4 separate regions of the Homo sapiens genome follow, and regions 2, 3 and 4 are each linked to region 1. The links are contacts of gene promoters, found by promoter capture Hi-C in blood cells and fetal thymus (Javierre and others, 2016). All regions are on one chromosome and are shown on one strand. The core of a region is centred on a gene start or on the middle of the fragment in contact, and the rest is flanking DNA. Distances in the headings are between cores, read along the strand shown.

Region 1 (7,043 bases), core at 3,099-5,598:
GGAAGTCCAACCAAAGTTCACCCTCCTCAGTGAAGTCTAAACTCCTCTCGATTCCCTTATTTCCCTGTCATTCACCTGGCACTTAGTAACTAGCAGCCTGCTACAGCTGTTTACCTTTTAATCTAATCTTTTCACAGGCATTTTCTTTTCAAGCCCATGACAGTCATTTCCTCACAGGCATGAACCATAAAGCATGCTTTAAGAAACTGAATATGATGGTAACAGGCAACCCTAAGAAAACTTTTAGGAAGTAAAATCCCCCTAACAAGAACAATCAATTTCACTTTTTCATGTTTCTTTCTAGCTCTTGCCCATTCCTGTATACATTTTTACATAGTAATAATAATAGATTTGATCAGTTACACGTACAGCTTTACATTCTTTTTCCACTAACAGAGAAAACGATCTTCCTTGTTAAATGGTTTTGACTGTCATCATTTTAATCGCTGTATAATAGTCCCTCCATTGAGATACTAGATCATGATTACCAAGGCACTGACTCTACATTGACTCTATTAGACATTATTACATACTTCTGTGTCTTTCACCACATCAAGTATTGGAAAATGCCAAGTAAACTCATTTGAAATATCTCCTGAAATAAATTTCTTGTCCATTCTCCCTAACACCTGAAATAATCTATTTCACTGTTTCTATCTTCATTTCTTTCGTTTCCCGGTTCTACCCCCTTAGGCTAGGTAGGTAACAAAGGTATTCCAAACACCTTTTATAGATATTTACTTATTTTGGTAGTTGATCTTATACAGATTTACACACAGGAAATCCCTTGAGGAAAAGCATTAAGATCTCATCCTATCTAATATAAGCCAGATACCTGGCAGGCACTCAATCAATGTTTGCTTACCTATTAAATGTTTTTTAAGCCACCTAAAGTTAGAAAACATCAAATTCCTGGAAAGGAGAATGTTGCTGATCTAACTAATCCCACCAATTACGGCTACAGAACTTTCAGCTCCTGTAATGATTAGACGGGTTAATAATGTATGAATGGGTGTTCTGTGCGGCACATGGAAGCACACAAGAATTATCTGTTTAGCTGTACAGTCTGAACAACAACACTGGAAAACAAACGATATCTGCAAATAGAACTTGAAGATCTTGTGACAAAAATTTACCCTTTTCTCTAGTTGTTTAGCTTTGCATCTCAGATGAAGAAAGGCAAAATAAAGGTTGTAATATTAAAATTATGTAAAATTACATACACGTGTGAGCACAAACTGGCATGGAAATGAAAAGCTGTTAGGATGAAGAAAGTATGTGAACTTTTTTCTTTTTCTTTTTCCTTTTGTTAGTGGAATGTTAAAATAAATGTATGACTAGACAAATATTTCTGACAAATTAGCCATTACAACTCTTCCTGTTACTGAATTAGGGCCTAATGCTTAACCTTCAAATAACTAAGGTTCCCAAACCCACATACAGTTTAGCAGAAAGACTAAAATACTCTCACTTCGAGGATAACTGTTAAATAATAAATCAGCTAACCACCTTAAAACTCCAAACACCTAAGCACAACCACTGAATCACACAAGAACTTAATACACCAGAGTTTTCTGGAAATTTTCAGATTTTCCTCAAAAGATAGCTAATGTGATTCCAAATATCAGAGTCTACACAGTAAAACTACATCATCACAGTAACCCATTCTCATCCCCGTCCTCTTTTATAGATAGCGATTTATAAGGTTGCTTCCGGCACCTATATGATAGAAACTATTAGGACTCAAGTTTTACTCTTTGTCATAATTATACAGTATTACATAATACTAATAACTGTTCAAAGTAATATTCTTTTCAAAATTACTGGAAAGGTTCCTACAGATCATACAAGGAAGAAAAAAAAGGAAATTACTGGAAAGAAATATGGTTTTGTTTTAGTCTTTTTTTTTTTTGAGACAGAGTTTCACTCTTGTCGCCCAGGGTGGAGCACAGTGGCACGATCTTGGCTCACTGCAACCTCCGCCTCCTGGGTTCAGGCTATTCTCCCGCCTCAGCCTCCTTAGTAGCTGGGATTACAGGCGTCCACCACCACGCCCGGCTAATTTTTTGTATTTTTAGTAGAGACAGGGTTTTGCCATGTTAGGCAGGCTGGTCTCGAACTCCTGACCTCAGGTGATCCACCCGCCTCGGCCTCCCAAAGTGCTGGGATTATAAGCGTAAGCCACCGTGCCTGGCCTGTTTTAGTCTTTTTATACAAACTTTGGACACCAATTTTTAAAAATCACTGGATTTACAATCCCACCACACTGTATTCCATAATAACCTTTATATTTATGTGAACAATTACTTCATAACAAAAATGGAAAAGAACAAATTTATGTGTGGTAATCACTGAAAAAAGAAGTCCACATGCACGTCAGGAAATATAAGGCTAAGAATGGGCACTAAGTGAACACAGGAGGTACTTTACACCAAATAATGCACTTCTCTATATAGGCTAATGGAATCTATGGGTAAACCTCAATTTCAAAATGATTGTTGAACCCAAGGATCAGCTCACATCCGTTCCACAGCTAAAACTATTATTCTTTGCCTTCCTCTAAACTCTGATGTTTATTACAACCTTATCAATGGCAATTTATAAGAGAAAAGCATAAGAATTTCCCTCAAAAAGTGAAACCAATGGGGAAAGGGAGAGGGAAAGGGCTCTAAATATCTGAGATGTCTTTTGTGGTGGTTGGTTAGCGGCCTCTTTTTAGCACTGACATTTCCAAGTTTTTTGTGAAAAGGAAATTTTAAGAATGTGCTGAAACCATCCTTTCAGAATCAATTCCCAGATAAGTTATGTTTCATTTGGCTTCTTTCTTTAAATTATTGTGATGGTAAACTGGAAGTAAACTGAAATACAGATACCTGAATATTTAAAAACTGATGCTTCTGAAAATTTTCAGAATTGTATCGACGTTTATTGTGTGTTGTCAGAGCACGAGATTAGTGAAGCAAAGCAGGACTCAATCTTGCACTAGTTGAGAACTTAAAGTAATTAAGTTCTTAGGGAAAAAAACTCACCTGACAGCTTTAATCGGACCTAGCAGGAACAGGACAAAACAATTCCCATAGATGAGATAACTCCAAGCGAGAAACCAATTTCCCCGAGAAGGACAAACCAACAAAGCTTATGTCAACTGGTTGATCTGTATGTCTCAATATATACAAAAGAAAGCAAAGAAGAGGAAAACAACCTATAATTTCTACATAAAAATTAAACAACACTTGATTTTGCTAAGAAGCTACAACTTTGTCTCTGGTACTTAAATGATTCTAATTAGTTCAAAGTCTCATCAATGGCAAAGTCATCTCCTGAGACAGTAATAGTGACCCCCAATGACAGGACCTTGTATATAAAGCGTTTTCAAACACATTATCTTATTTAAAGCAACTCACCCAGTCATGCTGCTTTGACTATCAAAGCCAAGACCCAGCCCACCTCCTCCCCTGACTTTTGGGGTTCTCTCCACTCCCCGGGTCTACAGATTATTTAAATGTACTCGGTTTATCTGCCTTCTCTACACTCCCTGCAGAGTTAAGAGAATGTCAGAAAGATACAATTCCACAAGAATCTTGGCACTTTAGCTATTTATTGAGAGATGATGAATGAGACTTCAGGCAAAACCAAAACTTTCTCAACTGTCCAAAAACAACGAAAAGGGCATCTCCTCCACCTGACCCCAATCTCAGGACGCCCAGGTGGAAGGAACTCGCCGCGGGGCACCCGCCTGGCCCCCTGCCCTTCTTCCCGCCGCGGGCCAAGGCGGTGCAGGCTTGGGCGACCCGGGCGAGACGCGGGGTCCCGGGGGGTCCCGGGCGGTCCCGAGGCGGGCTGCAGGGGCTGGCGACCCGCGCGCGGGGGCGACGATGACAGCTGGCGGGGAAGGAGCGAGGCTGAGGGGCCAGGACGAGGCTGGGCGCGAGGGCCGAGGGCGCCCTCGGGAACCTCCGGGGGAGACGAGAGGGCAAAAGGGCGCAGGGGCGGGGCGGGCGCAGGCGGAAGGGGCAGCGGGGCCGGCACGAGGGGCCCGACGGCGCCAGGGACGGGGCTGGCCAGGGGGGAAGGGAGGGGAGAAGAGGGAGCCGGGCGTCTCAGCGCGGGAGCGGGTTTCAGGGTCCCCGGGCCCCTCCTCGCGCCCCGCCGCTGACTATAGGGGCGGGGCCGCCGGACCCCCCACGGCGGCCGAGGGAAGGGCGCGCCAGGCACCTGCCGCCTCCGCCCCGGCGGCCCAGGAGGGCTCGGCTCTCACCTCGCCGGTTCATGGGTCGTATCCGCACCGCCACTTTCACTTTGGAGTCCCCCATCCTGCAGCCGCCGAGGAACTCGTTCGGCTTCCGTCTGCCGCGGCCACCGGCGACTCTTCGGGGTTGACCCGGCGGGAGGGGGCCGGGGGCGGAGCCGGGGGTGGGGACCGGGCTGGGGGCGGGGCCGGCGCGAGCTCCGGGCGCTCCCCGCTGTATGGCGGGACTTGTAGTTCCCCAGGGTCGTCGTGGGCGGGGCCGCAGCGAAGGCGGGGGCGGGAATGCTCGGGCGCGAGTCGTTTGCTACAACTTACCTACAGCAATGACGGCTTTTGTAAATTACACACCATTCTTGCTCTCGCAGCCAGTATTGAGAAGTAAGCCTTCAAGAGCTGATACCTCTTCTGAAAAACAATTGAATAGATGGCGTCAGGGACCCCGCTACCTCTTCCTGCTCATTTCCTGCCAATCTTAGTGTTTGATCCCTGGCTCAAGTTATTTCCTCTGCCTGGATTGACGTCCGGCCTTGTTTGCTGAGCTCGTCCTTCACGACAAGTTGCAAATCACGTTTTCTGGGAGTGTCCATAGGTCCACGGGTTAACATTGTCCTGTGAGTCCCCCTCCTTTGAGACAGGACCTTGGGCTCTGAAAACCATCTGAGTTCAAAGCCCACCTCAGCGCTTCCCACTGTGTGACCAGGGGCAAGTTATTTGACCGCTCTGGGCTTGTCTTTAATATGAAAAGTGGATATGATACTAATACCTAGTAAAATAGGTACATTTTTAAATAAGATTAACATATGTGTAACCTAGCCTTTAGTAGAGACCCATAAACATTAATTGCATGAATTAATGAATGAGGCCACACTAAAATTAGCTTTTTATTAGCCCTGGCAGACATTCTAACAGGTGGCCTGGGTGCCAGAGCCAGCACGCAAACATGTTCTGTTTGGCCCAACAGTGTTGGCCAACACATAAAAATCAGATTTGTGGCCAGGTGCAGGGGCTCACACCTGGAATCCCAGCATTTTAGGATGCTGAGGCAGGAGGATTGCTTGAGGCCAGGAGTTTGAGACCAGCTTGGGTAACAGAGTGTGAAATCAGATTTGTGCATGCAGTACTGGGCCTACATTACATATTGGACAGAGTGGATTGGAACTAAATAGCAGCAGCCACCTTTATCAGAGACCCGTCTCTCCACTTCACCACGGCCCCCCTCCAGGTGGCTTTACCACACATGCGCCTGGACCTTGTGGGTTTGTGACCCCTGCTTAGATGTGTTTAAATGATAGTAATAGAACTCAGAACCATTTTACAGATGAGTAAATACAGAAAGCTGGTAAGACTTGCCCTTTTACCAACCATCCTGTTATTGAGTATCTTCAATACAAGCAATGTTGTCAAAAAGTATAAAAATACTTTTTTTTTTTTGAGATGGATCTAGCTCTGTCACCCAGGCTGGAGTACAGTGGCATGATCTCGGCTCACTGCAACCTCCACCTCCTGGCTTCAAGCGACTCTCATGCCTCAACCTCGACAGTAGCTGGGATTACAGGCATGTGCCACCAATCCTGGCTAATTTTCATATTTTTAGTAGAGACGTAGTTTTGCCATGTTGACCAGGCTGGTCTCGAACTCCTGACCTCAGGTGATCCACCCACCTCAGTCTCCCAAAGTGCTGGGATTACAGGCATAAGCCACTGTGTCCGGTCTAAAAATACCTTTAAAAGAAAGGAAATTCTGAAACATGCTGCAACATGGATGATGGGCCTTGAAAACATTATGCTAGGTGAAATAAGCCAGACACAAAAGAACAACCACTGCATGGTTCTACATATATGAGATACACATGGTAGTCAAATTCATGGAGATAGAAAGTAGACTGGAGGTTACTAAGGGCTAGGAGAAGGGGGTATGAGGAGTTAGTATTCAATGGGTGCAGAGATTCGGCTTGGGAAGATTTCAGCTGCGGAAATGAATGGTGGTGATGGTTGCACAACAATGTAAATGTACTTAACGCCACCTAACCACTTAAGAGTGGTTAAGGCAGTAAGGTTTTTTGGGTTTTTTTAGAGACAGGATCTCGCTCTGTTTGCCCAGACTGGAGTGCAGTGGTGTGATCATAGCTCACTGCAGCCTCAAACTCCTGGGCTCAAGCGATTTTCCTGCTTCAGCCTCTCACCTAGATGGAATTACAGGTACGCACCACGACACCTAGCTAATTTTTATATTTCATTTTTTGGTAGAGATGGAGTCTCGCTATGTTGTCCAGGCTGGTCTTGAACTCTTGGCCTCAAGTAATCCTCCTCACTTCAGCCTCCCAAAGCACTAGGATTACAGGTGTGAGCCATTACACCCAGCCAAGATGGTAAGCTTTTTGTTGTTGTTTGTTTGTTTGTTTGAGATGGAGTCTTGCTCTGTCGCCCAGGCTGGAATGCAGTGAGTGACATGATCTCTGCTCACTGCAGTCTCTGCCTCCTGGGTTCAAGTGATTCTCCTGCCTCAGCCTCCAGAGTGACTGGGATTACAGGTGTGCACCATCACACACAGCTAATTTTTATATTTTTAATAGAGATGGGGATTCACCATGTTGGCCAGGCTGGTCTCAAACTCTTGACCTCAAGTGATCCACCCACCTCAGCCCCCCCAAAATGCTGGGATTACAGGTGTGAGCCACTGTGCCTGGCCAATAGTAAGTTTTATGTTACGTGTTTTTTATCAAAATTTCAAAAAAGGTTAAAAATAGAAAATGCTACCCCAGAAGGCCCTCTTTTTTAAAAAAGGAAATTTCTTT
Region 2 (7,043 bases), core at 2,100-4,599, 900 kb after region 1:
TGAGAAGATGTGTATAGGTTTTATGCAAACACTGCAGCATTTTATATCAGAGACTTGAACATCTGAGGACTGGTCCTGGAACCAATCTCCCACAGATACTGGGTACTGAGGGATGCGACTGTATGCACTTTGTGGTCCATGGGGCCTGTAACAAGGAATGGGAAATACCTACCTTCAACGTTGCCTAGAAACCAGATTTTTATTAAATGTGTTTGTTGCCAAGTCTTGTTTCTATTTCCTAGACATACCTGCAGCTTCTCCTATGTGCTACCAGTGCATTTGATATGGTTTGGCCCTGTGTCCCCATCATATCTCATCTTGAATTATAATGCCCACCTGTTGAGGGAGGGACCCGTAATCCAAGTGATTGGATTATGGGAGTGGTTCCCCCATGCTGTTCTTGTGAAACCTGATGGTTTTATAAATGGTAGTTTTTCCTGCGCTCACACTGTCTCTCTGTCCTGCTGCCTTGTGAAGAAGGTGTCTGCTTCCCCTTTACCTTCCGCCATGATTGTAAGTTTCCTGAGGCCTCCCCAGTCATGTGGAACTGTGAGTCAATTAAACCTCTTTCCTTTATAAATTACCCATTCTCAGGGAAGTTCTGTAGAGCAGTGTGAAAATGGACTAATACAGCATTTCAGGCCTGCATTATCTCTGTAGGATTAGACCAACTGCCTCCCTGACCCCCCCCACCACCAAGTACTTCTTCATACAAGTGTCAATTATCTGCATACCATTTGGTGACATTGTTGGCTTGGGAATAGGAATCCTTCAGTGACTTCTTGCCTACAGGTGCAAATTCAAATCCCTGGTCATGGTGTACAAGCTTATTCATGGGCTGATCCTGCTTTTCCTCCCAGCCTTACCTGCTCCCTTTCTCTTCATGATTTTTGTGCTTCTTCTCATTCAGTGATGTCCAACCTGGGAGGGGGGAAGAGGTTTTTACTTTGTTACTTACCAGTCTTTGCTTAGATGTATGCATATGGTATTTAAAAATAGATAGAATAGATAAAATTGTGTTTTAATTTTTTTTTTTTTTTTTGAGACAGAGTCTCACTCTGTCGCCCAGGCTGGAGTGCAGTGGCGTAGTCTTGGTTCACTGCAAGCTCCACCTCCTGGGTTCACACCACTCTCCTGCCTCAGCCTCCCAAGTAGCTGGGACTACAGGCGCCCACCACCACGCCCGGCTAATTTTTTGTATTTTTAGTAGAGACGGGGTTTCACCGTGCTAGCCAGGATGGTCTCGATCTCCTGACCTCGCAATCCGCCAGCCTTGGCCTCCCAAAGTGCTGGGATTACAGGTGTGAGCCACCACGCCCAGCCTTAATATTTTTACATAAGCATTCTTGCACAAACATTTACACCTTTCTTTTCTTTTCTTTTCGAGATGGAGTCTCGCTCAGTCACCCAGGCTGGAGTGCAGTGGCGCTACCTCGGCTCACTGCAAGCTCCGCCTCCTGGGTTCATGCCATTCTCCTGCCTCAGCCTCCCCAGTAGCTGGGACTACAGGCCACCACCATGCCCGGCTAATTTTTGTATTTTTAGTAGAGACGGGGTTTTGCCATGTTGGCCAGGCTGGTTGGTCTCAAACTCCTGACCTCAAGTGATCCACCCACCTTGGCCTCCCAAAGTCCTGGGATTACAGGTGTGAGCCACCATGCCCAGCCCAAAACTATTGTATTTCTGTATACTGTGACAATTGGAAATCAAAATTTTGAAAAATCCAAACAAAATTACAAAGACAAAATATCTAAAATGTTAGTGTTATTTCATAGTAGCTGAGAGCAGATTTAACACCATGAATGTCATTGCCATTTAGAAAAATTCTTTTATTAATGAAAAGAAGTTTCCTAATAACTATCACTGTAATGGAGAAGTCATTTGATGTACTTCCTCATGTCAGCTCATGGTTCAGCTAGGGTCAGTGTTTACATACAGCTTTGTCAAACAAAAGATAACAGCAGAATATAAAAAAGCATCAATAAGTTATATGGAAATTATTAGAGTCTTTTGAAGAATTTGTACTACAATTTATATTACTTGGTAAAAAGTTTCTCATATATGTGTATGTATATATATATATGAGAGTAAACAGAAACATTTGTAAATTTTAAATTTCTAAGTTAGTATTACCTTGCTGGTTGTTAAATAGTTTGAATGTATATTTTTTCTTCCTACCTTTACAAAAATAATGGCATATTACATACTGTCCATTTTCTCACTTCACTCTTTTTTACTTTTAACAATATAGCTTGGAGATCATTCCATATTTTTTTTTTTAAGAGATGAGGTCGCCGGGCACGGTGGCTTATGCCTGTAATCTCAGCACTTTGGGAGGCTGAGGTGGGTGGATCACCTGAGGTCGGGAGTTCGAGACCAGCCTCACCAACCTGAAAAAACCCCGTCTCTACTAAAAATACAAAATTAGCCAGGTGTGGTGGCACATGCCTGTAATCCCAGCTACTAGGGAGGCTGAGGCAGGAGAGTTGCTTGAACCTGGGAGGCAGAGGTTGCAGTGAGCCGAGATGGTGCCATTGCACTCCAGCCTGGGCAACAAGAGTGAAACTCTGTCTCAAAAAAAAAAGATGAGGTCTCACTATGTTGCCCAGGCTGGTCTTGAATTCCTGGGCTTAAGCAGTTCTCCTTCCTTGGCCTCCCAGAGTGCTGGGATTACAGGTGTGAGCCACTGTGCTCAGCCATTCCAAAATCTTGACAAGAGATTATTCATTCTTTTTGATGGCCATGTAATAGTCCATAATGTGCCATAATTTATTAACTAATCTTCCACTGATGAATATCTAGGTTGTTTTCAGCTTTTTGTTGTTTAGAAACGTGCTGCTATTAAAAGAAAAGATTCAAAACTCTTCTCAAGTGTTTTAGCACATGTGATTTGGGATGATGGACAATATACCAATTGAAAAATTTATAATGTATTAAAACCTTACCCTCTTACCATTGACTTTCCATTTTTCCATCTTTTTTTTTTTTTTTTTCCTGAGACAGAGTTTCACTCTTGTTGCCCATGCTTGAGTGCAATGGCGCGATCTCGGCTCACTGCAAACTCTGTCTCCCGAGTTCAAGTGATTCTCCTGCCTCAGCCTCCCAAGTAGCTGGGATTACAGGTGCTCGCCACCACGCCTGGCTAGTTTTGTATTTTTAGTAGAGATGGGGTTTCTTCATGTTGGTAAGGCTGGTGTCGAACTCCTGACCTCAGGTGATCCCCCCACCTCGGCCTCCCAAAGTGCTAGGATTACAGGCGTGAGCCACTGCGCCTGGCCTTTTTTTCCATCATTTTTTAAACCTTGTTTTCATTACAATGTCACGGTAGCTCCTCCAACAGTATGTTTAATCTTACCCCTGGTAAATGTTACCTTTTTCTTGCTACAGTGTGAAGATTGCTCCTGGAGCAGTTGTATGTGTAGAAAGTGAAATCAGAGGAGATGTAACTATCGGTAAGAAATAGTTTATTTACTGTTTTTCAAGAATTGATGTGATTTAATCTATTTTAGTGCTTTACAATTAGATACCGTCTTCCATGTTTATTTCACTGATGTCCTAGTTTTATTGACAAAATAATGCATTTTCTCCTATGTGTTTAAATTTCTGAAAGAATGTAGTGTGATGGAGGCTGTGTTTAAACTCCTATCTGAAATACTAATGAGGCTGTATAACAAAGTCATTCATGTATTTAAGAGAGATCTGTTGTGTACCTGCGATGTGCCAGGCACTGTGCTAGTGCTAGAGACACGTCAGTAAGCACAGCAGACAAAGGTGCTGCCTTTGTGGAGCTTCGTGGAGAGCGTGGGCCATGGAGTCAACAGACCTGGGCTACTCTGCTCCTTGCTCCTTTCTTGCTGGGTTACTTTGAACATATTACTTAACCTCTCTAACCTTGATGTTTTTCCCATCTATATAATTGTGTGTATCAGGATCAGGTTCGGCTGCATGTAGGGGTGGCTTACACCTGCAGAGGTTTATTCTCTCATATAAAAAGTTTCAAGGTGAGTAATGGAGGGCTGATCGGTTGATTGTCCAGCATGGAGCTCCGGCCCTGCAGGCCAGGAAGTGATGGCTAGAGCACCAAGCATCATCTTGGATGAGAAAGGGGAGGCGTGGAAGCAAAAGGGCATGTGTTCCAGCTGTGAGTCAGCTCCCTTTAAACAGCCTTCCTGAAAGTTCCACACGACCCTCCTCTGTGTGTCTCATGGCTAAGACAATCTCATGGACACATCAAGCTGCAAGGGAGTTTGGGAGTTGTAGTCTTAGCTGGTTGCATTGCAGCCGCTAATGAGATCAGGGTTCTATTACAAGGAAAAAGAGGAGAAGAGATATTGGATGGCAATGAGCAATTTTCATAACATGCAAAATAGTAGTATCTACCTCCTAGGTTTCTTGAAAGAAAACATGAAAATTGTGAGTAGTAAGCTGTCAATAAATATTTGCTGTTAACGCTGTCAGATCTTCTCAGTGTAGCCTTGCCAGAGTTCAAGTCCAACATTTTACTTACGTGAACTTGACTAAGTTCCTCAAACATTTTACTCTGTTCTTTTAACTGGGGTTTACCTGGATATGGTGCCCTTGTAGTTTTATTGGTGTGAGCTCATTCTTACCAGCAGCCGCATGTCACCTGTATGCTACCAGACTAAAGTGTTCAGTGAACTATTACACTTTCAGAGAGGAAATACACTTTATTTCCTTAAATGAACAGTTTCTTTAATGAAAAAAAAAAAAACCCTGTAACGTCATTTTTTTTTTCCAAAAAAAAATCTAAGCCTCCAAACAATTTAGGCATCTTGTCTTATAAAACCAGTGGAGATTGTGCCAGTATTATGGAACATTGTTAAGAATTTGCCAGGTTAGGACGGGCACGGTGGCTCACGCCTGTAATCCCAGCACTTTGTGAGGCTGAGGCGGGCGGATCACATGAGGTCAGGAGTTCAAGACCAGCCTCAACATGGAGAAACCCCGTCACTACTAAAAATACAAAATTAGCTGGGCATGGTGGTGCATGCCTGTAATCCCAGCTACTCGGGAGGCTGAGGCAGGACAATTGCTTGAACCTGGGAGGCAGAGGTTGCGGTGAGCCGAGATCGCGCCGTTGCACTCCAGCCTGGGCAACAAGAGCGAAACTCCTTCTCAGAAAAAAAAAAAAAGAAAAAAGAAAAAAGAATTTGCCAGGTTGGTTGATTTAATTATTTCTTTTCAGTGCCGTGGTAACTCTTTGTCTTTTGTATTACCTAAACCACTTGCGAAGTGTTTATGAAGCAAAATGAGGAAAGTTATGTTTTTTAATTTTTTACAATCTCTACTGCAGACTGGGACCACATATTTATCAAAATGCTCCTCTGTGTTCTTTTTACTCATCATTTTACTGCATTATAATTGTGGCTATCATCATGATATTCTAGGAATAATACCTTATAGTAGTTTGCAATGCATTCTTCAGTTAGAAGGAAAGTAAGACTGAAGTGATGTAATTAATTATGTAGATTTTCCCTGGCATTTCTACTTCTTCCCCATTTTACATTTTTTCTTTTCTTTTTTTTTTAAATCCCCCAATGTTACAACAACCCCGTTTTGGTTTTTTTTTTCTTTCTTTTTTTTTTTTTGAGACAGGGTCTCGCTATTTTGCCAAGCTAGTCTTAAACTCCTGGGCTCAAGCGATCCTCCTGCCTCAGCTTCCCAAAGTGTTGGGATTACAGGAGTGAGCCATCACACCTGGCCCAACAACAACCCCATTTTAAATAAGTATATAATGTCTACTATAAGATAGGTATGTAGATAGTATAGATACATCTGCAGGCATAAATATACACAGGCATTATGTGGTGGGGGGGGTATGTATTTCAGATTTGAAATAACATCTTTTGCAGAAGCTTTTCTGGGCTGTAAAGGCATTATCCTGTGCAAGGAAGGTAGCTGCCAGTGATTGGTGGACCACTGCCTAGGACTGAGTTTTAGGGGTATCAGGGATCAGTATTCACTTTCCTGTTTCTCTCTCTGGTTTTCACTACATTGTGGTCCTCCCCCATCTTTAACCCTCTTATGTTCCTACCTTCCCTACATGTTGAAATTATTTAAGGAAGTACAGGCTGGATGCCGTGGCTCATGGCTATAATCCTAGCACTTTGGGAGGCTGAGGTTGGGAGGATCACTTTAGCTCAAGAGTTCAAGACGAGTGTGGAAAATATAGTGGGACCAGAAAGAAAGACAAAAAGAGAGAGAGAGGAAGGGAGGGAGGAAGGGAAGAAAGGAAGGAAGGGAGGAAGGAAAGGAAGGAAGGAAAAGAGACAGAAAGAAGGAGAGGAAAGGGAGGGAGGGAGGAAAGGAAGGAAGGGAGAGAGACGGAAAGAGAAAGAAGGAAAGAAGAAAGGAAAGGAAGAGAAAGAGAAAGGGAAGGAAGGAAGGAGAAAAAAGAAAAATTAGCAGAAGGAAGGGAGGGAGGTAGGAAGGGAAAAATTAGCTGCATGTGGTGGCGCATGCCTGTAGTCCCAGCTACTTGAGAGGGCTCAGTGAGCTATAATTGCACCACTGTACTCCAGCCTGGATGACAGTGTGAGACCCTGTCTCAAAAAAAAAAAATTACATAAGGAAGTGCATTGTTTAAATCTACTTTCCTTTTAGTTTGTTTGTTTGTTTAGAACCAAGGTCTTGTTCTGTTGGGCAGGCTGGAGCGCACCAGTGTGATCATGGCTCACTACAGTGTCGAACCCCTGCACTCAAGTGATTCTCCCACCTCAGCCTCCCAAGTAGCTAGGTCTACAGTGACGCACCACCACACCTGGCTAATTTTTGTATTTTTGCCCAGGCTGATCTCAAACTCCTGGCCTCAGTTGATCCTCCTGCCTTGGCCTACTAAAGTGCTGGGATTACAGGTGTGAGTCATTGCTCTTGGCCCTTCAGCTAGTTTTTGACCACTAGCTGGTAGTGCACAATTCTGATGGTTAAAATGACATTTTAACACAGATTTTCTTTCTTTCTTTCTTTCTTTTTGAGACAGAGTCTCGCTGTCTTGCCCAGGCTGGAGTGCAGTGGTATGATCT
Region 3 (7,043 bases), core at 1,657-4,156, 800 kb after region 1:
CAGCTAATTAAAATAATAATCTGTAGAGATGAAATCTTGCTATGTTGCCCAGGCTTGTCTCGAACTCCTGGACTTAAGCAATCCTCCTGCCTTAGACTGTACTATCTTATTATTCTAAGTTTTACATTTGGGGAAGTGATACATGTGAACCTTTTCCATAGACAACAAAGGGCCGGGAGTAGTGGTTCATGCCTGTAATCCCAGCACTTGGGGAGGCCATGGTGGGAGGACTGTTTGAGGCCAGGAGTTCGAAACTAGCCTGAGCAACATAGTGAAACACCATCTCTACCAAAAAAAAAAAAAAAAAAAAAAAGTTCTTAAATGACAAGGAAGTACAAATACACAACAGATAAAAGAGGAACACTCAGGTGGGGCTTGAAACCTATACTCTGCCTCTTTTCCTCCCTTCCCTCCAGGGACCCTCTAAAGAACCTCATAAGAACACCACTAGGGCTCCCCAGAGTAATCTAAAAGCCACCAAGTCAACTCTTTTTTTTTAAAGCTATCGCCTACAGGAAGAACAGTCAACTCTCTTTACATTAACTCATTATTTTCTTACAATCCCAATGATCTGCAGTACTATGTTCAAAAACAATCTGAGTAAGCCGGGCGCGGTGGCTCACGTGTGTAATCCCAGCACTTTGGGAGGCTGAGGCAGGTGGAACACCTGAGGTCAGGAGTTCGAGACCAGCCTGGCCAACACAGTGAAACCCCATCTCTACTAAAAATACAAAAACTTAGCTGGGCTTGGTGACAGGAGCCTGTAATCCCAACTACTCAGGAGGCTGAGGCAGGAGAATTGCTTGAACCCAGGAGGAGGAGGTTGCAGTGAGCCGAGATCATGCCACTGCACTCCAGCCTGGTGACAGAACGAGAGACTCTGTCTCAAAAAAAAAAAAAAAGCAACAAACTACATTCTCTTTTATTCCATATCCTTCTACTAAGGAGAAATGGGGTAAGGATTTAGTGGGATATACATAAAGTAAAGCTGTGTTTCTTCTATCAGTTAAAATTTCTACTGTTTTACTGATGAAAAGAGGATAGTTTTATTATGCAATAGTCTTAATAAGGGTTTGTTTTAAATTGGTTCTTATTGGTTGGTGAAAAGTAACTGCAGTTTTAAATGGCAAAAATCATTAAACACATAAGATATAAAACTGGGGCTTTGAGGTTATGAAGCTTAACTAAGTGTAACCATGCAATCTCTGATGGGTTGGGAGGCTTGGAGATTTAATTATTTTTTTCAAACGCTATTTTTTGGCAGAGGCTTCCACACCATTTGTAAATTACTTTTTGAAAACATTTACCAAAAGACTAAGGTACGACTACCACATAAAATTACTGTTTAGGGAGACAGAACTTCTGCATGAACTTTCCCCTTTGGGAAAAAGGGTTTAAAAAAACAAAAAGTAACATTTATTTGCGCCTAGGCTAATAGAAAGAATGAGACTAAACCCCTTGTTTGTTTTTATTGATTCTTTTTAAGATTGAAACAGACTATTACAACAATATTTGAGATTTCACAGAGAACTGCATGCTTTTGTTATTAAAAGACTTTTGTTGAAAAATTTGACCTTTACCTCTTATGAACGAAAGAAATATAGAGGTTTCAAGCATTTTTGCCAGCACAGAGTCATTCACAACAACCTTCTAGATGCTTATTTTCTACCTTTTCCTACAGAAGGTAATATTCAGTTACCAGAAGGCCATCTCCACCACTGAATGATTCAAAGCTTCAGAGCTCAAAAGTGATCAGAACTCACAAATTAGCATAATTAGTCCAAAGCTTGATTTAAATGTTTGAAGAACAGCAAACATCAAATAATATAATACCAAATAGAATATTATAGTCTCTATGAGGTAATAACTCATCAGCTACAACCACCTAAAACTGAAATTTTCTGTACTTAGTTTCTATTAGTACAACACCTTCATTCTTAATGCTTCTTAGGGCATCACAGGTTTTAGAAATTAATGTATTTTTAGCATTCCACAGTAATGATCACTTTCAAAAACTGCAATATACATCTGCATGTTACACTGACATACAACACATAAGTATTTTGTCACACATCAACTTTTAGCCTCAAATAATAGAATACAAAAAGCTACACTGGACATAACACCACAGAACTTTTGAATATCCCCTTTTCCCAATTGTTAACAGGTAGTACTTTTTTTCTAAAGAGAAAGTGATGAAAAATCCAAAATTTCTGCATCCAGTGTTTGACTCCAACTTTCTACTTTATCGTCTCCTGGTACCACCATATCCTAGAATGAGAGGGGTAAAATTTACATTAGTTTTTAAAAATGCATTAGAATTGCTTATAAAATTACAAGTCATACATGTTTATTGTCAGCAAATGAATGAGATAGGAGGAAAGGAAAGAGTGTGCCACTAGGTGGAACTGGGCTAAGCAGGACAGTGCATCGCCTCCCACAGCAACCTTCCCAATCATCAAGCCTACTACACTCACACATGGTTGCTGGGAATGACAGTTAGGACCCCAAAAAAGAGAATGCATTCTATAGTGGGGCCACCATGGTACAGGCAATACTCAAAGTCTAAGCCAAAAAGACAGAGGCCAGTGGCGCATAAGCCATGCCCTGCTACCTCTCACAACTCCAGTGGTAAGAGACGTAATGTGGGGAGGGTTACGGACTTTAGATGCTTAAACGTTACTTAAGACACTGTGCGCACACACACAGGCTACAGGATGACAAATCTTCCTATCTAGAAAGTCTCTCAATTATTTTCAGGTTTACATTATTTGGTTTTTATGATTTTCTTTCATATAATTCCCATACATTTCTAGTTCATAGTCATGATTTTATGCAAGTCTTCTTTCCACTGAGAATGAATATTTTTCTGTCATGATGTCTTACCTAGCCATATATATATATATATATATATATATATTTTTTTTTTTTTTTTTTGAGACAGAGTTTTGCTCTTGTTGCCCAGGCTGGAGTGCAATGGTGCAATCTCGGCTCACTGCAACTTCTGCCTCCCGCGTTCAAGCGATTCTCCTGCCTCACCCTCCCAAATAGCTGGGATTACAGGCATGTGCCACTACACCCAGCTAATTTTTGTATTTTTAGCAGACATGGGGTTTCACCATGTTGGGCAGGCTAGTCTCGAACTCCTGACCTCAGGTGATCCACCCATCTCAGCTTCCCAAAGTGCTGGTATTACAGGTGTGAGCCACCGTGCCTGGCCTTACCTAGTCATATTTTTATATATTCTCCCAACTCCTTTTTTTCTTCCCAGAAGTACCTACTATCTCATACTCTAACACCATAAATTAGTTTTGCCTGTTTTTGCATGTGTATTTTATAAAATGTAACTGCTATCATCATAGTGTATATATTATTTTGTGTCTGGCTTCTTTATATTTGGTAGATCTATCCATGTTATTGCACACAACTACTTATTCTTAGTTGCACAGTAACCCACTGCAATACAGCAAACATAACTCAATTTATTCATCCATTTTACTGCTGATGGATACGTGGGCTGTTTCCAGTTTTGGGCAATTATGAATAGGGATGCTATGAACAGTCTTGTGCTTATCTGCCAGCACACAAGTGTATGCATTTCTGTGGCGATATATCTGAGAGCAAAACTGCTCTGTCCTTTGGAAGTATGCATAGGTTCAATTTTAGGAGGTAGTACCAGTTTTTTTAATTGAATGTATCAATATATATCCAAACCAGCATTATGAGAATTCTACTCACATTTTAAAACATATTTAAATATATTTTTCTATCAATTTCAAGAATTAATCATTGTTCTATAACTTCCTTTTCCTGAAAGACAAAGCTACTCCAGAGCAATCTCTCATGGCCTCCTTACCCAGCAGCTCCCAATTAGGCTTGATGCTTAATCCAGTTATTCCTTTGTTTTTTTTGTATCTTTGCTTTTTACAAAATATCCTCTGAGCATTCCAATAAACATTACAATCATATTTTTGAAAATTAAAGTATACCTCAATATCTTTTTTGAATGTTATTGAATTTTAAGTTTAAGCTTCTACTTAGAAAAGTCTAGTTTAGAACTTAAAGGATCTCTAGAGATCACAGAATTAAATATATGGGGAAGCTAGCACCCAGTAAGGTTCAAGTTAAAACCTTGGTCTATGGTAGAGCTAAGCCTAAATCAAATCCCTGTTTGATTTTTAAAGAATGTTTAAAAGTGGGATCTCAGTTAACTGTGCTATTAATATTTTTGGTAGGTACACCAAATAAAACCATGGTTGCTAAACAGATAATCATCTTCTAAAGTTCCCAAACTATTTCTGTACTTTACTCCTAGGTAAAAGGAACTTGTATTTTTTGCTCTTACCTGATGCAGTTCTGGTTTTCGTGTCTGAGTTTGAACATACCGAATAGCTGCCCGAGCCTCCATGAAGGGGTGAGTAAGCCCTATTCCACGTGCCAGGGTAGGAGGGAGGATAGGACGGGTAGTACCACGAGTCTGAGAAGGGTGTTGCCGCTCTTTAAAGGGATAAAAGTAGGTTAGGCATTTTTTTCTTGTGGCTATAATTTTTAAATACCTTCCTGTTCCTAAACTGTCAGAAAAAAATATCTTTATCAAGTATTTTTTCCTGAATGTTCTGGTATATCAGAGTTAACATGAAATAAAAACCGTTTCATATTTCTGCCATTATTATGGTCACTGCTATGGGGGAAAAGTGACAGGGAGTCAATGCTCTTTCTGAATTTGCACTCGAATAAAATCTAAACTTAAACTACCATTAATACTTCATATTCCAAAATCTGGCCCCAAGCTCTTTCCAGCCTTATTTTTATCATTCTCCTACCAAACCAGACTGTTCCCCAAATGCTGTCTTCTTTCCTGCCTTCTTATTTTCTCAGATGTCAACTAAACAGTCTTTTTCTTATCTCATAATATATATGAAGGTGACACAGGAAGAAACACAGTGAAAGAAAATAACATACACAATACTGATCAAAACAAATATAGTGTACCTTCCCCCTTCCCAGAGAATCTTATTTAATAGGCTAACGTCACCACAATTTATTTTCCTTAGCAAAACTAAATGCAGTTAAATTGTAAGCAAAACAAGCCTCTTGAATTAAAGAGCAAGTGAGATCAATGCAAAAAGCTTACCTATTGCTGCCAAACAAATATCCTAGTATTCCACCAGTTCCCAAGCCTGTCCAGAACCCTGGTCCTGAATTTTCATATCCTTGTTGTCCTGTAAAAGCACTGCCAAAACCAGAAGTTGCACCATGGCCAGTATTCTGTGGTCCTTAAAATAAAAATGATTTATTATGTATCCTCACTTAAACATGACAGTCTACAAAAGCAAAGATAATGTAACATTTCAATTATTTCATCTGTACTGAATTATTAATAATACTCAGGCATCAAGTTATTAACAAGTTGTATTCAAAAAGGTATTTGTAAAATACTGGTTTATAATGAGGGAGAGCATTTCCCATAGATATGGGAGGAGAGGGATAGATTTTGGGACTGGGGAGGGTCTTGCTATAAAATGACATCTGCCCTGCTCAATCAGCTACTAGAAAATCACCCCACTTTTCAGGGTTACTTTCTCTCTGCAGTACAAACTCTAAGTGGAGTCTCTAAGAGCTCCAGATGAGAGCTGTGCCTCAGTCTCTAACCGAGGAATCCAAGGGGAGGCAGCCAGATATTTATTTGTGTCAGTTGGGAAGTCAGATCTCAAAGGGACCTAAAAAGTATCTTCTGCTCAGAGGAAGTTTTAACTGATGTATACATATATATAAGAAAGTGTGCTAATCTTACACGTGTGGCACAACAAATTTGTACATATGTACCTATCCATGTAACCACCACCCACACCAATAAACCATTTCTGGCACCCCAGAAGGCTCCCTCATGACAACTCCTAATAGATTCCCATCTATGTCAGAGATCAGCACTACTTTAACTTCTCTTACCATATTTTAATTCTGTCCATTCATGAACTTTTTCTAAACAGGATCACAAAGTATGTATTCTGTGTCCGGCACATCATTATGTCTATGGGAGTCAATCCTACCATTGCATTATCAGTTTTTTTCTTAACTCATGTGTCTTCCACCGTGTGAAAAATTTACACAGTCCCATTCTAATGTTTATGGATATTCCACCTCCATTTTTTGGCAGTTATAAATAAAACTGCTATGAACATTCCTGTGCATCTTTCTTGGTGCACCATGCATTCACTTCTCCCAGGTATGTACATAGGAATAGAATTGGGTATGCATGTTTGGGTTGTTTTACCATTTAAACTCCTACCGGCAAAGTATGAAAGTTCCAGTCACTCTACATTCTTGCCCATACTTGGTACTCTGTCTTTTTAATGTTAGCCATTATGGTGGTTATCTGGTGGCTAAAAATAATCTCCCTGTGGTTTTCATCTGCATTTCTCAGGAGACTAATGATGCTAAGCACCTTTTCTTATTTCTGTTGAACATGTAAATCATGGGTTGGGACCCCAGTACTGCTCCACGGCCTGTTAGGAACTGAGCCACACAGCAGGAGGTGAACAGCAAGCAAGCGACTGAAGCTTCATCTCTATTTAAAGCCACTCCCCCATCACTTGCATTACTACCTGAGCTCAGCCTCCTGTCAGATCAGCAGCAGCATTAGATTCTCATAGGAGCACAAACCCTACTGTGAACTGCACATGCGAGGGATCTAGGTTGCATGCTCCTTATGAGAATCTAATGCCTGATGATCTGTCACTGTGTCCCATCACCCCCAGATGGGACCATCCAGTTGCAGGAAAACAAGCTCAGGGCTCCCACTGATTCTACATTACATGAGTTGTTAATTATTTCATTATATATTACAATGTAATAACAACATAAATAAAGTACACAATAAATGTAATATGCTTTAATCATCCCAAAACCTTCTCTCCCCACCCCACCCCACCCCAACCCCCCTAGTCCGTGGAAAAATTGTCTTCCACAAAGCTGGTCCCTGGTGCCAAAAAGGCTGGGGACTGGTGAAGTAGATGTCTTCTCTTATTATAAAATGGGCATTC
Region 4 (7,043 bases), core at 1,540-4,039, 640 kb before region 1:
CTGAGATCTGCTAGGTCCCCACCACCTCAGCAGGCAGGGCCAGTGCTTCCTAACATTGTAGAACTTCTCATTTCACCCCTGTGGTCAGGCTAACTGAGAGAGGGCTCAGTTCACAAGCACATTCTGCAGGCTCCTATGGAACTTGAACTAGAGCTCTGAGTTCTTCAGCAGGATGGATTGTGTGTGCCATCCAAGAATGGGGATGCTGTTTCCCATAACTGCCAACCCCTGTCCTCTCATGTTCCTGAGGTTCAAATGCAAGAGATGCTGCCCCTACACCGGTCTCAGGCATTTGGACCGGAATCCAGGCACATTACATACCCCATGTAGGCTTCATGGCCTCTAGGCTGTCTTAGCTCATTAACATCTCGCAGTTAAACTGGAAAGGCCAGAAAGGTGTTAAACAGAAACAAAAACACTGTAATCAATTTGGTTTGACTATATTTAACCGTTTAGCTTTTCTTTTGTTTTCTTTTCTTTTTTTTAAGAGATAGGGTCTCACTCTATCACTCAGCCTGTAGTACAGTGATGTAATCATTAGCTCACTGCAGCCCTGAACTCCTAGGCTCAAGTGATCCTCCTGCCTCAGCCTACTAAGTAGCTGGGGCTATGGTGGGCACCATCATGCCTGGATAACTTGCTTATTTTTGTAGAGACTGGGTCTGGCTATCTTGCCCAGGCTGGTCTCTAACTTCTGAGCTCAAGCGATCCTCCCCTCTCAGCCTCCCAAAGTGCTGGGATTTCAGATGTGAGCCACAGTGCCCATTGTTGGCTTTTTGATACATTTAAGATCATGTACATTACTGTTAATTATGATTGTTTTTGTCATTCAGTGTGTGTGATTTTCCAAAGATTACACTTTGAATCTCCAGGTGTGCACTGAATTGTCCCCCTCCTTCCCCACTGACAGGCTGAAGTCCTAAGCCCCAGTACCTCAGAATATGACCTTATTTGGAAATCAGATGATTGCAGATGTAATTAGTTAAGATGAGGGCATGCTGGAGTAGGGTAGGGTGGGCCCCAAATCTAATATGACTGGTGTTCTTATAAAAGGGGGATATATTTGGACACAGGAAAAATGCCACGTGTACATGAAGCTGGCCATCTACAACCCAGGAGAGAGGCCTGAAACAATCTTTCCTCACAGTCATCAGAACTGGAACCAACACTGCCCACACCTTGAACACAGGCTTCCAGCGTCCAGGACTGTGAGACAGCACACGTCTGCTGATTTAGCCCCCTAGCTTATGGCACTTTCTGACAGCAGCGCTAGCTAACCAATACACTCCCTGCTAAATGTACTTTTCCATTTGTGCCCCACCAGGGTTTGCAGACAAGCAAAATTGTCATAGTTCCCTAACGCCTCAGAATGTTTTCTTCCTGGATCACTTTTTATAATTATTACTTACAGTGAGGGAAAACTGAAATATTGCAATGCCATCCACAATTAGGATTAGTCCCAACCACTCAGAAACGTTAAAAACTGATCTAATAAAAATAAAGAACCTTAAGACGCATTAAACTCTAAGCTACTTGGAAGCTGCTTCTTCTGTTTGTGGACACGCAGATTTGCCACAGTTGAAATCACTGGCCACGTGCTGTCTTGTGTGTGTTTGTCACTTAACATCGCATGACAGAAATATTTCCACGTAGTGACAATGTTCATATTCTTATTTAAATAGCGACTTACTAGTCATTTGTTATATTCTCATTTTTCACTACATTTTTGTGTAATTTATTTTTTAACTGCATTTAAACTTTTTCCTCGGGGCATGTACGGGAAGAGTTCTGGATTCCAATTTTAGCCCCTGTCACACAGAACCCCGTTCTTCTCTAGACTGAGCTGACCTGTGGTTTCCCCAGAAATAAAAACGACGCGTGCAGGTTTCTCCCTCCCCTTGACGTCATTTCGTTTGATCCTTTGTAATGATTTTCCCTAGTTTCGAAAGCTTGCCCTAGTCTTAACGCTGTTTTCGCGTTTCCTTATGTCGCTAAGCGGGAGGTAGCCCCGCACTCTAAGCATCCGGCTCATTTTCATGTTTTACCGGACCCCAGCGACCGGCGCCCTCTGCGCTAGGCGCCCGGTGCCGTATAGCCCTCCGCCGTGTGCAGCCGGGTGCTGGTGTTGTTGCAGCGGCGCCCGCCAGGAGGCAGCGCAGGCTCGGCATTGGCTGCGGCGTCCCACAATGCACCGGGCTCTGGGGCCTGCACGACAGTCTTGAACCCAGCTGCGGGGCCGCGAGAAGGCGGGCCCGGGAGCCGGCGAGGGCGGGGCCTCCGAGGAAAGGGCCGGGAGCCGACGCGGAGGCGGTGGGCGGGGCGTTAGGGGGCGGGGCCGGGAGCCGCCGAGGGGGCGGTGGGCGGGGTATTCGGGGGGCGGAGCCGGGAGCCTCCCAGGGGGCAGTGGGTGGGACCGGGAGCCGGCCGGCCGGGCCGGGGATGCGGTGAGCCGAGGGCGGGGCCTCAGGGGGCGGGACCGTGGAGAGGGCGGGGCCGGGCCGCTGGCGCTGTCGCCGGCTGCAGTGGCCGCCGCTGGAGACCGCGGGACCTGGCGCTGCAGCGAGGTAGGGGCTCTTCGGGATCTTCCCTTTCGGGGGTGGGAAGTCTTTTCTTCGTCGTGCCAACGGGAGAAGCGGCGAGCTGCTAAAATTTAGAGACGGCTTCGCACTTCTCGCTGTAGCCCGGGCTTTACCCGGGGGATCGATTTTAAAACTCTTTGTCTGGCCCCGTCGTCCTGCCCGCGGGCCGGACGTGGGGCGCCTGCTCTGGGCGTCTGGGGCGGGCGATTGCAAGCTCGCGGTCCATGTCCCCTGCCTCGGAGTGTGGACGTGAACTCCGGGGTGGGCTGGGCTGGGTTTCTACAGAGGCGGGAATTTGTGAGAACTGGGAGAGTGTGGCTGTCGGCAGGGGTCCGTATCACACTGTGGGCGGGGGTCCCGACCCCTGCTGCCTCGGGTACGGGGTAAGCGGCATCTGCCACGCGCCCGCCTCGCGCGCTGTCAGGAGGCGCTGTCCCCGTGGGTAAGCCCGTGCCGTGGGTGCCCTCCAGTCCCTGCAGCCCCAAACACACCTACCCCAGAGGACACCACAGAATGCGGACCCCAAAGCCAGCCGTACCTGCGAGCCCCTCAGCACAGCTGACTTTAATTTGGGATCCCACAATTTGAGCTTTTCAAAAGTTAAGTTTGGCAGATTGGAAGCCCGGGAATAGGGGGCGCTCGGAATGCTGAGTTTTGTTGGTGTTTGTCCTCAGCCTGTTTCTGGGTCACCCTGCAGGGCTCCATCCGTTCAGTCTCACCCCTTGGTAAGCATGTCCTGTCCTGAAGGCTCCATGCTGAAAGTCTAGACCCCATCTTTGCCTACTTTTCAAGGCTTGGCAAAGCACGTGTGTCTTTTGATCCTTATCCCCCATGTAACATAATTCATGTTTTTAAAGATATGTTTTTATTTAAAACCTTCCCCCTATATTTTCATTCCCATAAATACGAATTGGTTGATTTTACTTGTGAACTCCTTTAGGCATTTAGTAATAAAGGTTATAATTAGGAAAACTGAAAGATATTCATCAGGTAAACATGATCCTCCTTAACAAATTTGCTGCTCGTAAAAGGCAGCAGATGGGAAATCAGGCAAGCTTGGTTTTAAAACGTTTCTGCCTCTGAGAAGGTTGAACTATTAATATTATATTTATTGTTCATTCCAAGTCTAAAATGCTAGCAATGAACTCACATTCCTTTTTTGCTAGACAGTCATACCTGTTGACTTGAGATAATAAGAAAATTCTCCTCATCCCCAGAACTGAAGAAAATTCTTTCCAATTGTTCTCACCTTACCTATCCCCAGGGAAAGGAGATAAGTCTCAGAGTTGTTGGGATTCTAAATATTTTGTTAAGCAGAAATTCCTGCTGGTCCTTAACAAACTCTGAGTACTTTGCTCTGGAATTATCAGTTCTTTTTCAAAATGTGAAATTATGAATTGCCTATTACATACAATATTCCACATCTCACGTTAATATTCATTTAAAAGCATTGTGAGGCCGGGTGTGGTGGCTCACACCTGTAATCCTAGAACATCCGGAGGCCGAGGTGGGAGGATTGCTTGAGCTCAAGAGTTCAAGACCATGCTGGGCAACATGGCGAAACCTCATGTCTACAAAAAATGAAAAAATTAGCCGGCATGGTAGTGAGCACCTGTGGTCTCAGCTACTTGGTAGGCTGAGGTGGGAGGATCACTTGATCCTGGGAGGCAGAGGTTGCAGTGAACTGAGACCACCCCACTGCACCCCAGCCTGGGTGACAGAGTGAGACCCTGTCTCAAAAAATAAAAATCATTTTGTAATTGTGAGTAAAAAGAAACAAATCTTTAAAAGATTAAAAACAAGAAAAAATTAGTATATGTTAGTGATTACCATTTTGACTTCCCTGGAGGGACAATAAACCCAAAAGATAAAACCAAAATCTAGTTATTAATAGTCACCGACACCATAAGAACTAGAAGGCACCATCTGAAGCTTAAAAGGAAGTTTAAAAACATGTTAAATTCAGACAATAACTTTGCACAGTGGTTTGCAAACATCAGTAAACCCAAACCCTCAAGTGATTCCTATGGAAAGACACTGACACTCAGATCAAGAAATTTAAATACAAATTCATGGGCTAACTAAAAAAATAAGCAGATCAAGTATCTCCAGCATCAACTGTGAATACACACACGTTAGGTTAATTTAAAAAATGACCCACTGTTTTTTACAATCTTCCAATGCCTGTATGCTTCCAAAAAGGCACAGCTGGCATACTTTTTGCTTCTAAAGGAGGTAAACTTTAAAAACTGACCCGCAGTTACAGACCGGCACTTAGAGGAGTTAACTCAAACAGGTGAGTGACTCACCAATTACTCATTTTTTCTGCAGATTATTTACCTACTAAGTGCAAGACTGGACTCATAGCTTTAGCTCACTCCTAGTGAAAACACTGCACATAGGATCTATAAATGGAGGCTGTGTCATCAAGACCTCAGAAGTAGGGGCCGGCATATTTCTTAGACACTGATGAAACAGAAACATCTCTCAGAAGAACCATAAAGACATGAGTAGCTCTGTGTTAAAACACATCATTTATTTTGAAGGGAAAAAGGAACGCAGAAAGAACAATAGAGAGGAACTCAGAGCATTTCCTCTGTGGCTTCCCCCTTTGTGGTGCCAATTTAAAACAAAATTATTGTCTAATGATACTAATTTTTAAATAATAGTCATGTAATGTGAGGTTATAGAAGTAGTTATTCTGAAGGAGATAGTCACTCATACATGAACTGTCCAGGTTTCCAATAATAAAAACATCACTCTATTCCTATTCATGTATTTGTTCAATAAACACCCTAGCACAGTTTTAGGATTAGGAATATGAAGATAAATAGTTTAACATCTGACTTTAAGAAGCTGATCTAGTTGGGGAAATCAACCCAGAGATAATTATGCAGTTGGTATGATGATAGATGTCTGCTCGTAGTGCTATCGGACCTCTGAAAAAATCAGTGCCTGAAATTAGTATTAAAGGATGACTAAGTTTTAGCCAGAAGTGGGAGGAGACTGCTCCAGGTAGAGGGAACAAACATTAACAAAATCATGGAGGTAAAGGCCAGGCACGGTGGCTCACGCCTATAATCCCAGCACTTTGGGAGGCCAAGGTGGGAGGATTGCTTGAACCCAGGAGTTTGAGACCAGCTTGGGCAATATAGTGAGACCACATTTCTCCAAAAAAAAAAAAAAAAAAAAAAAAAAAAGCCAGGTGAGGTGGTGCACACCTGTTGTCTCAGCTACTTGGGAGGCTGAGGTGTGAGGATCTCTTGAGTCCAGGAGGTGGAGGTTACAGTGAGCTGAGATTGCACCATTGCACTACAATCTGGGCAACAGGGTGAGACCCTGTCTAAAAAAAAAAAAAAATTAAACTAAAAAAATTTTTTAAATGGTGGAGATAAAGTACCAAAATATGAGGCCTAGAAAGATATAGAATAAGACTAAAGAAAGAGGACGGGGTCACACCATAAAAAGTCTTGTAAAGGCAGGGGGAGCCACTGGAAACTTTGGTGGGAGAATAACAGGATCAGATCTGCTTTAAGCAGCTTACTCTGAGGCTTCAGTGAAGAATGGACTTAGGAGGGTAGGAGGCAGGAAGAGCTGTTAAGAGGCTGCAGCAGTGATTAGGAAAGAAATGATGAGGGTGCAGCGTTGGTGGAACGTGTGGCCAAATGGTCATGCATTCCTAGACATTATCAGCTTTCTTAGACATGATTTCATTTGGTTTTTGTAACCACCCTTTGCTTTTTGTAGGGTAGATTAATAGGCGCATTCTGTAAGTGTTTACTTAGGCACTTTGTGTTCACTATCCCTGAATCTTATAAAAACCCTGTAAGTTGAGTATTATTAGCCCACTTCCCAGAAGCGTGTACTGAGGCACTGGTGAGGGCAGAGGCACAATCAGCTCCAGGTGCAGTCTTTTCATACAGGGCTCATTCTGAACAGCAGATTGGTCCTTGCCTCTGAAGACTGAGGTGGGACAGCCCTTCCAGGTAAACCCACACCTCAGGCGTCAGCATGGGAGTGAGACCGCAGTGCCTGGCTTCTCAAGCAATACTGTTTATGCATTTAAAAGTCCCCTGGCTGGGCGTGGTGGCTCATGCCTGTAATGCCAGCACTTTGGGAGGCCGAGGCAGGCAGATCACGAGGTCAGGAGATCGAGACCATCCTGGCTAACACGGTGAAACCCTGTCTCCACTAAAAATACAAAAAATTAGCTGGGCGTGGTGGCGGGCGCCTGTAGTCCCAGCTACTCAGGAGGCTGAGGCAGGAGAATGGCGTGAACCCAGGAGGTGGATCTTGCAGTGAGCCAGAGCCAGGATTACGCCACTGCACTCCAGCCTGGGCGACAGAGCGAGACTCCATCTCAAAAAAAAAAAATTAAAAAAAATAAAAAAAATTCCCCTTGAGGCTGGGCGCAGTGGCTCATGACTAATCCCAGCACTTTGGGAGGCTGAGGCAGGCGGATCA

The links. The method cuts DNA at HindIII sites, captures the fragments that hold promoters and counts their contacts. A CHiCAGO score of 5 or more calls a contact.
Region 2: a fragment that was not itself captured here is called in contact with the fragment with the promoter of KIF13B in region 1 in 1 of 17 cell types (fetal thymus); the score reaches 5.3 in fetal thymus.
Region 3: a fragment that was not itself captured here is called in contact with the fragment with the promoter of KIF13B in region 1 in 1 of 17 cell types (naive CD8 T cells); the score reaches 7.2 in naive CD8 T cells.
Region 4: a fragment that was not itself captured here is called in contact with the fragment with the promoter of KIF13B in region 1 in 2 of 17 cell types (non-activated CD4 T cells and fetal thymus); the score reaches 7.9 in non-activated CD4 T cells.

The regions. Positions count from the first base shown.
Region 1 is chr8:29,258,722-29,265,764 of GRCh38, forward strand. It overlaps KIF13B (kinesin family member 13B), which reads right to left and starts at 4,349. Exons shown (of 40, transcript NM_015254.4): 1 at 4,259-4,349. The coding sequence starts at 4,313. RefSeq lists a silencer at 3,727-4,556. The HindIII fragment of the contact is 3,487 bases long and covers 3,134-6,620 here.
Region 2 is chr8:30,160,724-30,167,766 of GRCh38, forward strand. It overlaps DCTN6 (dynactin subunit 6), which reads left to right. Exons shown (of 7, transcript NM_006571.4): 2 at 3,388-3,452. Among named protein-coding and RNA genes, the nearest start is that of DCTN6-DT, 7.6 kb to the left of the region's middle. The HindIII fragment of the contact is 5,050 bases long and covers 825-5,874 here.
Region 3 is chr8:30,061,643-30,068,685 of GRCh38, forward strand. SARAF (store-operated calcium entry associated regulatory factor) reads right to left here. Exons shown (of 6, transcript NM_016127.6): 4 at 5,135-5,276; 5 at 4,346-4,497; 6 at 1,361-2,271. The coding sequence ends at 2,246. Among named protein-coding and RNA genes, the nearest start is that of SARAF, 18 kb to the right of the region's middle. The HindIII fragment of the contact is 2,244 bases long and covers 1,785-4,028 here.
Region 4 is chr8:28,620,247-28,627,289 of GRCh38, forward strand. It overlaps a transcript of EXTL3 not described here. Among named protein-coding and RNA genes, the nearest start is that of EXTL3-AS1, 78 kb to the right of the region's middle. RefSeq lists silencers at 1,894-2,330, 2,252-2,511. The HindIII fragment of the contact is 1,685 bases long and covers 1,948-3,632 here.